3 separate regions of the Homo sapiens genome follow, and all the other regions are linked to region 1. Evidence: promoter capture Hi-C in 16 types of primary human blood cells and fetal thymus (Javierre and others, 2016). All regions are on one chromosome and are shown on one strand. The core of a region is centred on a gene start or on the middle of the fragment in contact, and the rest is flanking DNA. Distances in the headings are between cores, read along the strand shown.

Region 1 (3,825 bases), core at 1,028-3,527:
ATGAGCAGAGTGCAGCCTGCTGGGACTGGTGGGCAGAATGAGCCCGACCAAAATTCGGGCAGAGGTGCCATTTTTCCAGCTGGAAAAGTGACACTCCAAGGATCCTGTGACAATGGCTCCACTGAAAAATGATTTCGAATAACTGTAATAATAGGTAAGGTCATTGTGAACGCATGTTAATCTTCAGTAGTCTAGTTTGATTTCTTTCAAACATTGCTTCTACTTAGCAACGCAATTGAAAAATAAATCTCCAATTTATAGGGGAAAAAAAACCTCCATAGATTGGAATAAAGGCCCTCTACTGTCTAGATCTCACCTGTGTTTCTAGATCTTGTACTATTCTACATGCACCTGTTGCTCCAACCTAGCTGAACTTCACTGTTCCTCAGGAAGCCCTCAGCAATGCTGTCTTAACTTCCTTTCTTCACATTTTCAATGTCGGGAAGATCTTTTCACTAGCAGCTTCCCCTTCCTTTACCCATATCCAAATCCTACCAGTCCTTTAAGACAGTGTTTCTTAAAACTGAATAATGAACAGACTCCTAAAATAAATTCTTATGATCCTAGAGAATGTTTTCAGTAGGCTGGGGTCCACAGACCAGTTTGAAAAGCACAAATATAAAGAACTAAAGAGCAATTGTATAAAATTATGCAAATGATCAAGTTGAAAGACAAATTTCATCTTTATAACTGGTAAAATAACTCGTATTTTGCCATAGAACTCTGATTCTTATCTTCAGATCTATGATCCGTTTAAGAAACACTAAGGCAAAGCTGAAACCTTGGAAAATGTTCCTGCATCACCCCAAGGTAATACATTTTTATTTTTTCTGATTTGGTGTCTAACAACTTTCTGCCTTGGAGTAGCTAGTAATATGTAGCATTTTCCTAGAAAACATAAGCTCTTTGAAGACAGGGACCACATTTTATTTATTTTTTATATGCACCACACCTAATACACAGTACATCCTCAGCAAGTACTGGCTGTAAAGCCTATATTCCATGCTCTTATTTTGTAGTCCAAATCACTTTAAAAATCACACTTCTTCTATTGTTCATACTCATAGAAGAGCATATTACTCAAATAGCTCTGCTATAAATTAACAGTAAGTTTCAGAAGTTATACCAAGTCACGAGACTCAGATTTTTAAAAAGTGCCACAAAGTGTCTCTTCTGTGTCAATGTTAATAGAACCCTTTCTTTAAATGATCAGTAGGCAAATTAAGAATTTCCGGATAAAGAACAAACTCTGGAAAAACAAAGCTAGTGGGAGAGGCCCTGTAAATACCTACCTAGTCTTACAAGGGCTGTCTCTAACTCAGCTTGTATTTTAGGCAGCGTCTTCAGTTTTTCAACTAATGTGTTTGAGAAAACTGTTTTCCTCGGACATGCAGGCGTGGACTCCTTACTTCAGGTAAGGTGACAGCAGCTTGACAGAGAGTGCCTTCCCTCCCACGGCATTTGGGACGAGGCTGAAGGAAAGACACAGGCGGGGTTACGGGAAACCCATTCTCTGCGCCATCTGGGCAAGCTGAAGTCAGTTTTTCCGCTTTCTCACGAGGTAATGGATTATCATGGGCTCAGGTCCCCTTCAGCTCTGAAACAGGTATTCTATGGCTCTAAGTAAACACGGCAAGAGACAGGTTATTTCTTTGGTAAGATCAGTTGTATTTCCCAGAGAATAAAACGGGCAACAAACCATTTATCGATATGTGAGTCTTCCCCCTAGGCCCTAGCTATTTGGGGTTGGATAAAGAAAAAGAGGGTTTGCTTCCTTTTTGGCGGGTCCTCCAATGACAGGGCTCCTGGCCCGCTGCGGGTCCAACTCCCACCTCTCGTGGCTCCCCCGAGGCCGAGCGAGGCTCCGTGCGAGGACAGCCCCTCAACCGCACTCCCCAGAGGGAGCGCTGGGACTCGCGGAGGAGATTAGTCCCCGGTCATAAACAACCTCTCACTTCCCCTCCCCCGCCCGCGCCCGCTCGCGCCGGGGCGGCGCGCCGGGGCGGCCCTCCGAGGCCCAGGAACCTCCTCCGGCGCCCGCGAGGCCCCGAGTCCTCCTCCGGAGGGCGGCTGCGGGCCTGCCCTCTTCTCCTAACCAGGTGTTTGTCCACTTTACTCAACCCTTCTTACTCGTCCACGCTACGGCCACCTCACAGGGGCGGCTGACGCCAGCCCCTTTTTCCCTCCCCTCGACCCCTATCACCTCCAACAGCCAAGGAGAGGCCGGCGGCCCTGACGCGCAGGCTCACCGCCGCGGCCGCCCCGCGCGCGCGGACGCGGCCCCCGCCCCCACCTCGCGGTCCTTCCGCAGTCCGGCCCCGCCCCTTCCCGAAGCCCGCCTCCGGGTCGGCCCGCCCGCCCGCTCGCGCGCACCCGACGCCCCGCCTCTGCGCGTGCTCAATAACTGTCCCCGGAGCCGGCCTACAAGCTTCCCCCGCCCCTGAGCTGTTTAAATATGCTAATGAAAGGATAGGGCCTGACCAGTAGAACGGCGAGGCGGTGTATCACGTGGCTCGGGGACGTGTCAGGGGCGGAGCCTCCGCAGCCCCTGCCCGAGTTAAAACCGGAGTGTGAGAGAGAAAAGCGCTTCAGTAGCGAGAGGGGCTGAGAAAGTGGTGACACCGCCGGGGTGCGGAGGGAGTCCCTGAAACTTCTCCCAACAGCCCCAGGGCCAATCTTCCCTCAGCCCACTCCCCTCTTCGCCAGCTCCCAGGTCCCCACTCCTGTACCGGGGGTGGGGTGGGGAGCCAGGCCCGTCTCCCGCTGGGACACACACAGGGGCCGGGAGCGGGGACGGGACCCCCGAGGCGGGGGGGACGAACCGACAGACAGACGGCTGGGCGCCCGCCCCAGCGGGCAGGCAGGCAGGAGGAGGCGGAGGCGGGGGTACGACGGGGAGCACTGGGTCTGGGGAGTTTCCTCTCAACTATCGGGGGAGAAACTCCCCGCAGCCGGAGGAAAGACCCAGACAGTGTTTTCCTCCCGGGGGCCGTGCTCCCCCGCCCCGCGTAGCGGCGGTCGCCGCCACCGGCGCCTCCACCTCTACCATCTCCTCTTTCTCCACCACCTCGGGCCCCGGTGTCCCCGGCCAGCACTATGCCCATCTTACTGTTCCTGATAGACACGTCTGCCTCTATGAACCAGCGCAGCCATCTGGGCACCACCTACCTGGACACGGCCAAAGGCGCGGTAGAGACCTTCATGAAGGTACCGACTGACCGAGCCCGGGCGGCGACCCCGGCCCGGCGGCCCGCGGGCGGCAGGGTGGGGGAGGGCGGCCGGGGCGGGGGTGTCGGGGACCTGACTGCGGGAGCTGCCGGGCTCGGGGACCCCCTCCCCCACCGCGCGGGCGGGCGGGCGCTGCGAGCCGGGTTCGGCCGGGGCCCGGGCTCCGGCCCCGGGCGGTGTGTGGGGAGCGATCTGTGTGTGGGGGACGGCGTGGAGGGGTGGCCGCTGCGTGTGCGGTACTGTGGGGGCGGCGGGGCCGCTGGGCGCCCCTTCTCCGCCTCGTAACCTCGCCTCTGTGCTTCCCTGTCGCCCGCCCTGTTCCTCCTCCCGTCCCGCAGCTCCGTGCCCGGGACCCTGCCAGCAGAGGAGACAGGTATATGCTGGTCACTTTCGAAGAGCCGCCCTATGCTATCAAGGTAACAGCCCTCGCCCTCCCCCTTTCCTCCCTTCCCTTCCCTGTTCCTTCCTCGCTCGCCCTCCCCGCCCCCCCATTCACCCTTCATTATGCTCCCCTCCCCCACCCGCTGCGCTCCCAGCCGCTGAGGTCTCTTCCCTGCGGGCTCCCACCCCCTCCCCCGCTCGGCAGCGTCCTAGCGC
Region 2 (4,074 bases), core at 33-2,532, 1.4 Mb after region 1:
AAATTAGCTGGGCGTGGTGGCACTTGCCTGTAGTCCCAGCTACTCGGGAGGCTGAGGCAGGAGAATTGCTTGAACCCGGGAGGCGGAGGCTGCAGTGAGCCGAGATCGCGCCACTGCACTCCAGCCTGGCGACAGAGCGAGGCTCCGTCTCAAAAAAAAAAAAAAATTACAACTTTATTATCGTTAATTGTCCTATCAGAGTGCCCATTTTTTTTGAAGGTAGACAGGTTTGCCTAGATATGGTGCTTCTACTTACCAGTTCTAAGACTTTGGGGCAGATTTCTTAATCTGAACCTCAGGTGTCCTCATCTGTAAAGTGAAGATAATACCTACTTCATAAGGCTGTTGTGAGCAATAAACACGATTAATTCGTAAATCATTTATTTAGCACAGTGCCCAGCACACAGTACACAGTCAATACGTGGTAGCTGTCAGTATACCAACGTGTTGCACAACAGAAACTCGTCTTTGCTGGATTCAGTTCACTTATCACGCCATTAAAAAAAAAAATCATCCTAAGTGACACAGAAAAACTGCCCATTCCTATCTCAAAAAGTTTATGAACAAGTTAAGACGGTAAGAGAAACTGAATTCAATGAAAGCGCCTTCGCAACAGGCAGCTTAGGACCGGGAAGAAGGGCTTCAGCAAACTTAATCATTAACTCTAGGCAGGCGCGCGCGCACACACACACACACCGTTGAAGAAGGAGACCACGCCTCCTGTGTGGGCTCAGGTTGAATCGTACAGCGTGGTAGAGAACTCCAGGGCTGCTGAATCTGACAGATGTGGATTCATCCACTTCTGTGCCACCTGTGCTGTCTTGGGCAAATTACTTAACGTCTCTGAGCCTAGGTTTCCTGGTCTTCAAAACGAGAACAGTAATAGTTCCTACCTGGTAAAGTTGTTCCGAGGCTTAAGTGCGATAACCCCTGTAAAGCGCTGGAGAACGGCAAAAGCTCTACAAGCCGGCAGGGCGGTTTTAAATGCACGTGTATCCATATACAAGGTCTCATTGATACATTCCGTTGTTTGGAGTTTAGACACTGGCTGTAAGACGTTTTTCTTTTCTCCTAAGCAGGACCCGTATTTGTTTACCTCCAACGTAGACTAAATGCCTGTGGGCTGGTAGCTATAAGACGACCCCTCGGCCCCACAACCTCTAAGTTCACTTCACCTCCGCGGCTTTGCAAAAGCGCTACACGCACGCGCAAGAAGCAAGAGGACTGCAACCGAAGAAGCAAAGGGAGAGCCGTGCACCACGATGATTCTGCGCATGTGCCTGGCGGGAGGAGGGGGGAGGGTTGGAGTTTGCGCATGCGTAAAAATGTCGGGAAAGCAAGAGAAGGGGGGTTAAGAGGCGGTATTGACAGCTGTGGAGGCAGCCCGCGTTCCCGGCATTCCCTGGGGCGGCGGGGTTGGCTCTAACGAATTTGAATGAGGAGCCTCAGCGCTTTCGGCGCCATTTTCGAGTGATGCCTGATCTCATCAATCTAGCGGGAGAGACAGGATAACCTGTCCGAGAGTATAGCGCCACTATGACTCCGCCGGAAAAATTACTTTAAAAATCGCCAAAAATTACTTGGAGCAAAGGGCAGTCGGCGGAGCTTCGCCAAGGCTGGCGCAGTCGGTAAGAGCCTGAAGAAGTAGCAGAGCGGGACTCGGGAGGTGGCAGTGGTGGGACCCGCAGGCAGTGGTGGGTGCAGGGAGTGGGCGCGGGGTCTACTCTCACTTAATCGCGAAAAATCCGAGGAAGTAGGGTTAGGGGCAACTTGGGCGTCTGCGAGTGGGCGGCGGCGGGCGGAATGTGGCGGGAGCGCGGAGAGACGGGGCTGTGGGGGGAGGGGAGCTGCAGTTTGAGCGGGACGCGGACCGGCTGCGGCGGAGCAGCCGCCGCCCAGCGGATCTGTCAGCAAGACCCCCCGCCCGGGACCGGAGCCGGGGACGGCGCACTGCGGGGTCTCTGCAGGCGGCCGCTCCTTGACAGGAGGACTGGACGCGCGCCCCTCCCCCATTTCCGAACCGGGCCGCCTTTTCTCGCCGTTTTCTCGACCCGGTGATGGCCGTCATCTCGTGACAAGAAACTTAAGGTCGACAGAAAATTCAGGACCCGGAGTCATGGGTCCCTCCGGTGGGTCGTGGCAACAGTCCCCCCCGCCACCGCCCGGCACCCATCTATCTATATTGTCTTTTGACGCTGAAGCGTGAGGTGCCCCAGGAAAGAGTTTCCCAAGCCCTGGCTGCCCTCCCCCGGCGCGCTGGGTCCCGGTGAGGTCTCTAGGTAGGTAGGACTGGCCGCGGCTCGCGCTTCCAAGATGGGGCAGGGGCAGGCTTTTGAGGTTGTAGCGGGCTCTTAGGAAAGATGCTGGACTTTAGCTTCTTTCTGGGGATTTTTGTCATTTGCTCTCGCAGCGTTGTCCTTTCTCAAAGGGGAGGAGTGTTCACGGGTGAGATGAAAGATGGGGCTTCGAGCTAACGATTTCCTTCTCGTGGCTATTTCCTCCGAGTCGCACTTTCTTAGAAGACTTTTTTCTTCTCCGGTGTTTGAAACATGTCGCAAGGAAAAAAGCAATCTGTGAAACTATTAATGTTTTCCTCCCCCAAAAGTCTTTACCCGGACAACTTAACGGTAATTTTGCGATCCCCACCTTTTCTTGACGCTGAGGAGGAGGGACGAGAGTTGTTATTTGTCTTTCCCTTCGGTGATTTTTTTTTTCCCCCTTAGCTGGTGGTTTCTATCAATTCTTACTCCACAGCTCTTGAGTGATGTGAGCCAGTGACGGCATTAACTTTAGGTAATACTTCTATGGCCTTTGTAAAAATCCCGCGTTAAGGATGTATTAGATCTTGAGTTCTTTTCCGCGCTGGAGGCACCACTAGATTAACCCTTTGCCGGTGTATTGCGTGTGGGGCGCACGGCTCTGGGTTGCAAATATTCCGGAGATGCTTTCTGCAGCAGCTATTCTGTTCAGTTGTTCGCAAAGAGGAATAACGCTTCCTGGGAACCGCGGTGACACGCTTCTTTAGGACTGCCTGCCTACAGAGTTTTTCCCCGTGGAATTGATGTAACGATTGATTTATTTCTTATATTCTATGAAGACTGGGGGACCCGCCCTCGCTTAGAATGTTTCCCGGAGGAGAATAGAAGAGTGCAATGTGATGTTTTTCAAATTGTGTCTAACGGAGCTCCCTAAACTCTGGACTTGTTACCCCCTGATTGGCTGGAAGGAAGCGGGCCTGGGGGGTTTGAATGTTGAACGCTAAACTATAATTCTCGACTTTACGAAAAAATATACTTTTAGCCAGAGAACCACGGAAATAGCTACGAAACGTTAGGACGAGAGTTTAGAAAAAAAGTTGGTTTTTAATAGTTTTTTTTCCTCTCAGAAAGGATTTTCGTGTGGTTCTCAAATGTATATTAAAAGTAAAACTGAAGAGGCTGTTTTCGCAAAATTATGTTTCTGCTGGTTGAAATTAACAAGACTTTTATATATTTGTCACTGTTCTTTATTGGTTAAAAACTGAGTGAAAAATTTAGTTTTTTTCCTTTGATAGGAATTTTTCACCTTAAACTACATATATTTGTTGGATGCAGATTACCGGACAGTTGTTTCTTTTATTTTGATGCAAAGAAACTAATTTTCTTAAGGTTCACGAATGATCTTTTTAACATTTTCCATAAAAATTGAACATCTTATTTAAAAAACTTTTCGCATCTAGTGAAAATATACATTTTGCTAATTCAGTAACTGCAGTGAACTAAAACTTTAATTTACAAAACATTTATGTTTCTTAATTTAGACAACAGGTAAGCACAGGTGCGTATCTATTATTTAGTTCCTTTGATAAATTCATTATGAAGAAATATATTGTATACAACAGTGTGGGTGTGCTGTTTTTTATCTGGTTGATTTTCAGTTGATTTTTGTTCGATGTTGCCTGAGACAGCCTCAGTATATTTCCATTTATTACCGAGCTTGTCATTCCATTTAATTGCATCTTGATAAAAGGCAGGTGTCGTTTTCAAAGAACAGCGGCAAACTAACTGATAAACAGCTGTAGATGCTTTGAGAAAC
Region 3 (3,807 bases), core at 339-2,838, 2.0 Mb after region 1:
TAATGGAAGTGGTGAGAAGCAGTCAGGCTCCAGATACAGTCAGGCTGAACACAGAACTGGCTGGCCCGACTGATGCATTAGAAGGGGTGTCCGGAGGAAAGAGAGGCCCTGAGGAGCCACTAAGGTTTTTGCAAGGAGCACCTGGGCGAATGGAATGGGCTGGTGGTTGAGCAGGTTTGGAGTACCTGAATACAGTGGAGGAAACAAGAATTCTCTTTGGGACATACTCAGTTTGAGATCATTTCAGAAATGGAAGAAGTTGGTTATACCAGTCTGGAGTTTGAGGAAGAGGTCAGGATGGAAGCGCATCTCCCGTGACTTACCTTACAGTCCATATGTATACCAATGAATGAAATATCCAACTGATTGGCTTGTGGTTGCCACGTATGATGTTTACGTGTGACGTTTTGTGGTTTGGTGCCTTTGTGTCATCCTCTCTGCTGGGAACACCCCTTCAACTTTTCCACCTTTGGCTGAGTCTTGCCCTTTAAAGGTAAGCCCATGAAACATGGAGAAACCCTCTCTACTAAAAATACAAAATTAGCTGGGCGTGGTGGCACATGCCTGTAATCCCATCCACTCGGGAGGCTGAGGCAGGAGAATCGCTTGAACCCGGGAGGCAGAGGTTGCAGTGGGCCGAGATAGCGCCTTTGCACTCCAGCCTGGGCAACAAGAGTGAAACTCCTCTCAAAAAAAAAAAAAAAAAAAAAGGGTAAGCCCAGCCATCCTCTCCTCAAAAAGCTTTCCCTGAAGACTGGGAGTCAGGAGTCTCTCATCTGTACCTCTGTGGTTCTGACCTCCTCATTAAAGTTGCCTAGTAGAGTCTCTAGGGCAGGGTCTGCCTAACTCATCTTTGTATGCTCAGGACCTTGCCCTGAGCCTGGCACACCGTTTGGAGCTATACACACACGCAAGGGCAGGAACCCATCAGAAGACCCACCCACTCAAGTAGAGGGCCGGGGAGGACTGGAACGACTGGAGAAGGGGAGACGGGTTCCAGTCACGTCCTCCGTGAACGTGAGACCCAGCTCTTCCCTCAGGGCCGCCCCCTGCCTCACCGCATCAGGGCGCCCCTCCACTGTCCTGGTTTACCGGTGAGCGGAGGGGCGCTAGGAGAGTTGACATCGGTTGTGGTGGAAGCACTGGGCTGTCACCCGCGGGGGAGGTAAACCGAAGCGTGCCCACCACTCGCGCGAAACCATGGGCAGTCAGAGCCACCTGTGGAACTGGCCTGGGCCGCGCCCTGTCCTCTGGCCCCCTCCCCCACCAACAGGCACGCGAGTGGTGAGCCAAGTTCGTCCAGCGCCGCCCCGGCGTCTAGGGCCCCGGCCCGGAGTAGGGGCAGGTCGGGCCCCCATGCGGCCACGACCGGAAGGCAGGCCCCTTGACCGGGCCCGTCGCTGCCCAGCCCCGCCCGCCCGCCCGCCCGCCCCCGCGGTACACACCGGTGGGAAGGAGGAGCGCCTCCTGCGCGGGCCGGGCCTCCGGGCTGCTGGCGCCGAGCACCCTCTCGGGCCGGGGCGGCGACGCCTGGGCCATGACTGTGCTGCAGCTGCGGGTGGCGGCCGGATAGCGAGATCCCGGAAGTGCCCCAGCTGCACTAGGTTTCGTTTTCTTAAATCTGGGCTGTCGCTTTGAGTCACTAGCCGGCCCGGGGAAAGTTGGGTGTGCAGAGAGGGGTTGTCACACACACTGCTCCAGATTCCAGTCTAGTCTTAATTTGAATAGCTTAAAAAACCCAAACGCCGGGAGCAGTGGCTCACGCCTGTAATCCCAGCACTTTGGGAGGCCGAGGAGGGCGGATCACGAGGTCAGGAGTTCAACACCAGCCTAACCAACATGGTGAAACCCCGTCTCTACTAAAAATACAAAAATTAGCTGGGCATGGTGGCGGGTGCCTGTAATCCCAGCTACTCCAGACACTGAGGCATGAGAATCGCTTGAATCGGGAGGCGGGGCTTGCAGTGAGCCGAGATCGCGCCACTACACTCCAGCCTGGGCTACAGAGCGGGACTCCGTCTCAAAACAAACAAACAAACAAACACACACAAAAAACAAACAAACAAAAAAACCCCAAACGCCAGGCTTCCCTACTCCACCCCCCACAACACAGCGGGAGAAACAATCACTCTCCTGAGGGTTCCTCCTAAAAACTATCATACTGGCCGGGTGGGCGCGGTGGCTCACGCCTGTAGTTCCAGGACTTTGGGAGGCCGAGGTGGGCGAATCACGAGGTCAGGAGTTCGAGACCAGCCTGGTCAACATGGTGAAACCCCGTCTCTACTAAAAATACAAAAATTAGCCGGGCTTGGTGGCGGGCGCCTGTAATCCCAGCTACTCGGGAGTCTGAGGCAGGAGAATCGCTTGAACCCGGGAGGCGGGGGTTGCAGTGAGCCAAGATCGCGCCACTGCACTCCTGCCTAGGCGACAGAGCCAGACTCCCTCTCAAAAAAAAAAAAAAAAAAAAAAAAATTATCATACCGAGTTTGGCTTAAATAAGCATATCTTAAAAGGACGCAGAATTAGCCGATCCTAAATCCAGTTGCCAGTAGCAAGCCTTTATTTAGCACCCATAGGGTACAGAGCACCATACAAGATGAGGTTTTCAGTGAATCTAACATAAATGCATATAATTATAGTTAAAAAATAAGTTGTTCTGGAAAAAAGACATATAATAGTTGGTGGTTTGCTGAGGAATTAAAGGAAAACTGGAGGTCTTCCACTTTCAGCAGGTTGTAAAGAGGAAGACTGCCAACTAGGGATAGCAGAAGAGAGAACATTAAAAAGGACAATTTGTATAGTCTTGACAACTATGAAATGAATTGCAGAAGAGTGTGGGGTCTGCAAAACAGGGAAGTGAGCAGACAGACCCTAGCAGCCAATTTTTAAATTTTTTTTTGCCCTCCATGCAGGAGGATGAAAGAGTATTTCTTGCCAGGCCAAAATGAAAGGCCCTTTATAAAGAGACTGACATTAGGGTGTTCCCCAGCAAGATAGCTCAGGTAGGTCATAGTAAAACAAAGAGCCCTTTACCACACTCTCAGCTTATAGTAAGCTTTTTGGTGTTCCACACTTAAATATGAGTAGACTACCAAGACCATTAACTCTGAGGAAAGCCTATAATGTGAACGACCAAAACAAACATACAGGGGAAACAAAGAAACAAACCCTGGAGGACACAGATTATGCCGAAAGAATACAGAGATGCATGCCTGTATGTGTATGTATACGTGTGTGCATATACATACATAAACACACAAACATCTTCAAGGAGATAAAATACTGCAACCATGAGCCAAAATAGGATGCTATTAAAAAAAAAGAATATTCGGAGAAGGGGAGCTCTTAGAAATTAAAAATATGAGACAATATGAGACTAGAAAAATAAAATGCAACAGATGAACTGGAAGATTAAATTGAGAAATGCTCCTAGGAAAAGGTCCTAGCAAGAAGACAGAGCTGAAAGTTAAGAGAAAAGATAGGAAAATTAGAGATCAAATTCTGGAGGTCTAACATCTGGAAAACAGGAATTCCAGAAACAGTGAAGAGATGGGAAATCATTAGTTTCAGACGGAATGATCCCACCAGGCACCTAGTACAAAGGATGAAAATGGACTCTTAACAGGGACAGAACATTGAGACAAAGATAAACCTATAAGCTTCAAGAGAGATAAAAATGGATTATATATGCAAAAGAGAAGGAACAGAATGGCATTCAATTTCCAGTAGTCACCCTGGAAGCCAGAAGACAGATTTTCAGACTCCACAGCAACAGCACTGAAAGCTAGCAGATGTCTTCAAAACTGG

What was found. The method cuts DNA at HindIII sites, captures the fragments that hold promoters and counts their contacts. A CHiCAGO score of 5 or more calls a contact.
Region 2: a contact is called between the fragment with the promoter of DLEU1 here and the fragment with the promoter of INTS6-AS1 in region 1, in 1 of 17 cell types (fetal thymus). The highest score is 5.9, in fetal thymus.
Region 3: the fragment with the promoter of PHF11 here is called in contact with the fragment with the promoter of INTS6-AS1 in region 1 in 2 of 17 cell types (fetal thymus and activated CD4 T cells); the score reaches 9.3 in fetal thymus.

What each region holds. Positions count from the first base shown.
Region 1 is chr13:51,451,797-51,455,621 of GRCh38, reverse strand. It overlaps INTS6-AS1 (INTS6 antisense RNA 1), which reads right to left and starts at 2,277. Exons shown (of 2, transcript NR_103812.1): 1 at 2,204-2,277; 2 at 906-1,619. It overlaps INTS6 (integrator complex subunit 6), which reads left to right and starts at 2,586. Exons shown (of 18, transcript NM_012141.3): 1 at 2,586-3,207; 2 at 3,567-3,644. The coding sequence starts at 3,097. RefSeq lists silencers at 1,821-2,140, 2,231-2,430, 2,661-2,920, 3,161-3,430, 3,441-3,560 and 2 more and an enhancer at 2,551-2,600. The HindIII fragment of the contact is 2,653 bases long and covers 1-2,430 here.
Region 2 is chr13:50,079,377-50,083,450 of GRCh38, reverse strand. DLEU1 (deleted in lymphocytic leukemia 1) reads right to left here and starts at 1,282. Exons shown (of 7, transcript NR_109974.1): 1 at 894-1,282; 2 at 257-309. All of the region lies in intron 1 of DLEU2 (deleted in lymphocytic leukemia 2), which reads left to right. RefSeq lists enhancers at 358-1,153, 2,771-2,830 and silencers at 1,311-1,360, 1,761-1,980, 1,844-2,138. The HindIII fragment of the contact is 5,734 bases long and covers 1-4,074 here.
Region 3 is chr13:49,493,734-49,497,540 of GRCh38, reverse strand. It overlaps PHF11 (PHD finger protein 11), which reads right to left and starts at 1,588. Exons shown (of 10, transcript NM_001040443.3): 1 at 1,446-1,588. The coding sequence starts at 1,539. All of the region lies in intron 12 of SETDB2-PHF11 (SETDB2-PHF11 readthrough), which reads right to left. SETDB2 (SET domain bifurcated histone lysine methyltransferase 2) reads right to left here. Exons shown (of 14, transcript NM_001160308.3): 14 at 2,538-3,807. RefSeq lists enhancers at 1,007-1,056, 1,547-1,786, 2,097-2,782 and a silencer at 1,247-1,526. The HindIII fragment of the contact is 2,314 bases long and covers 744-3,057 here.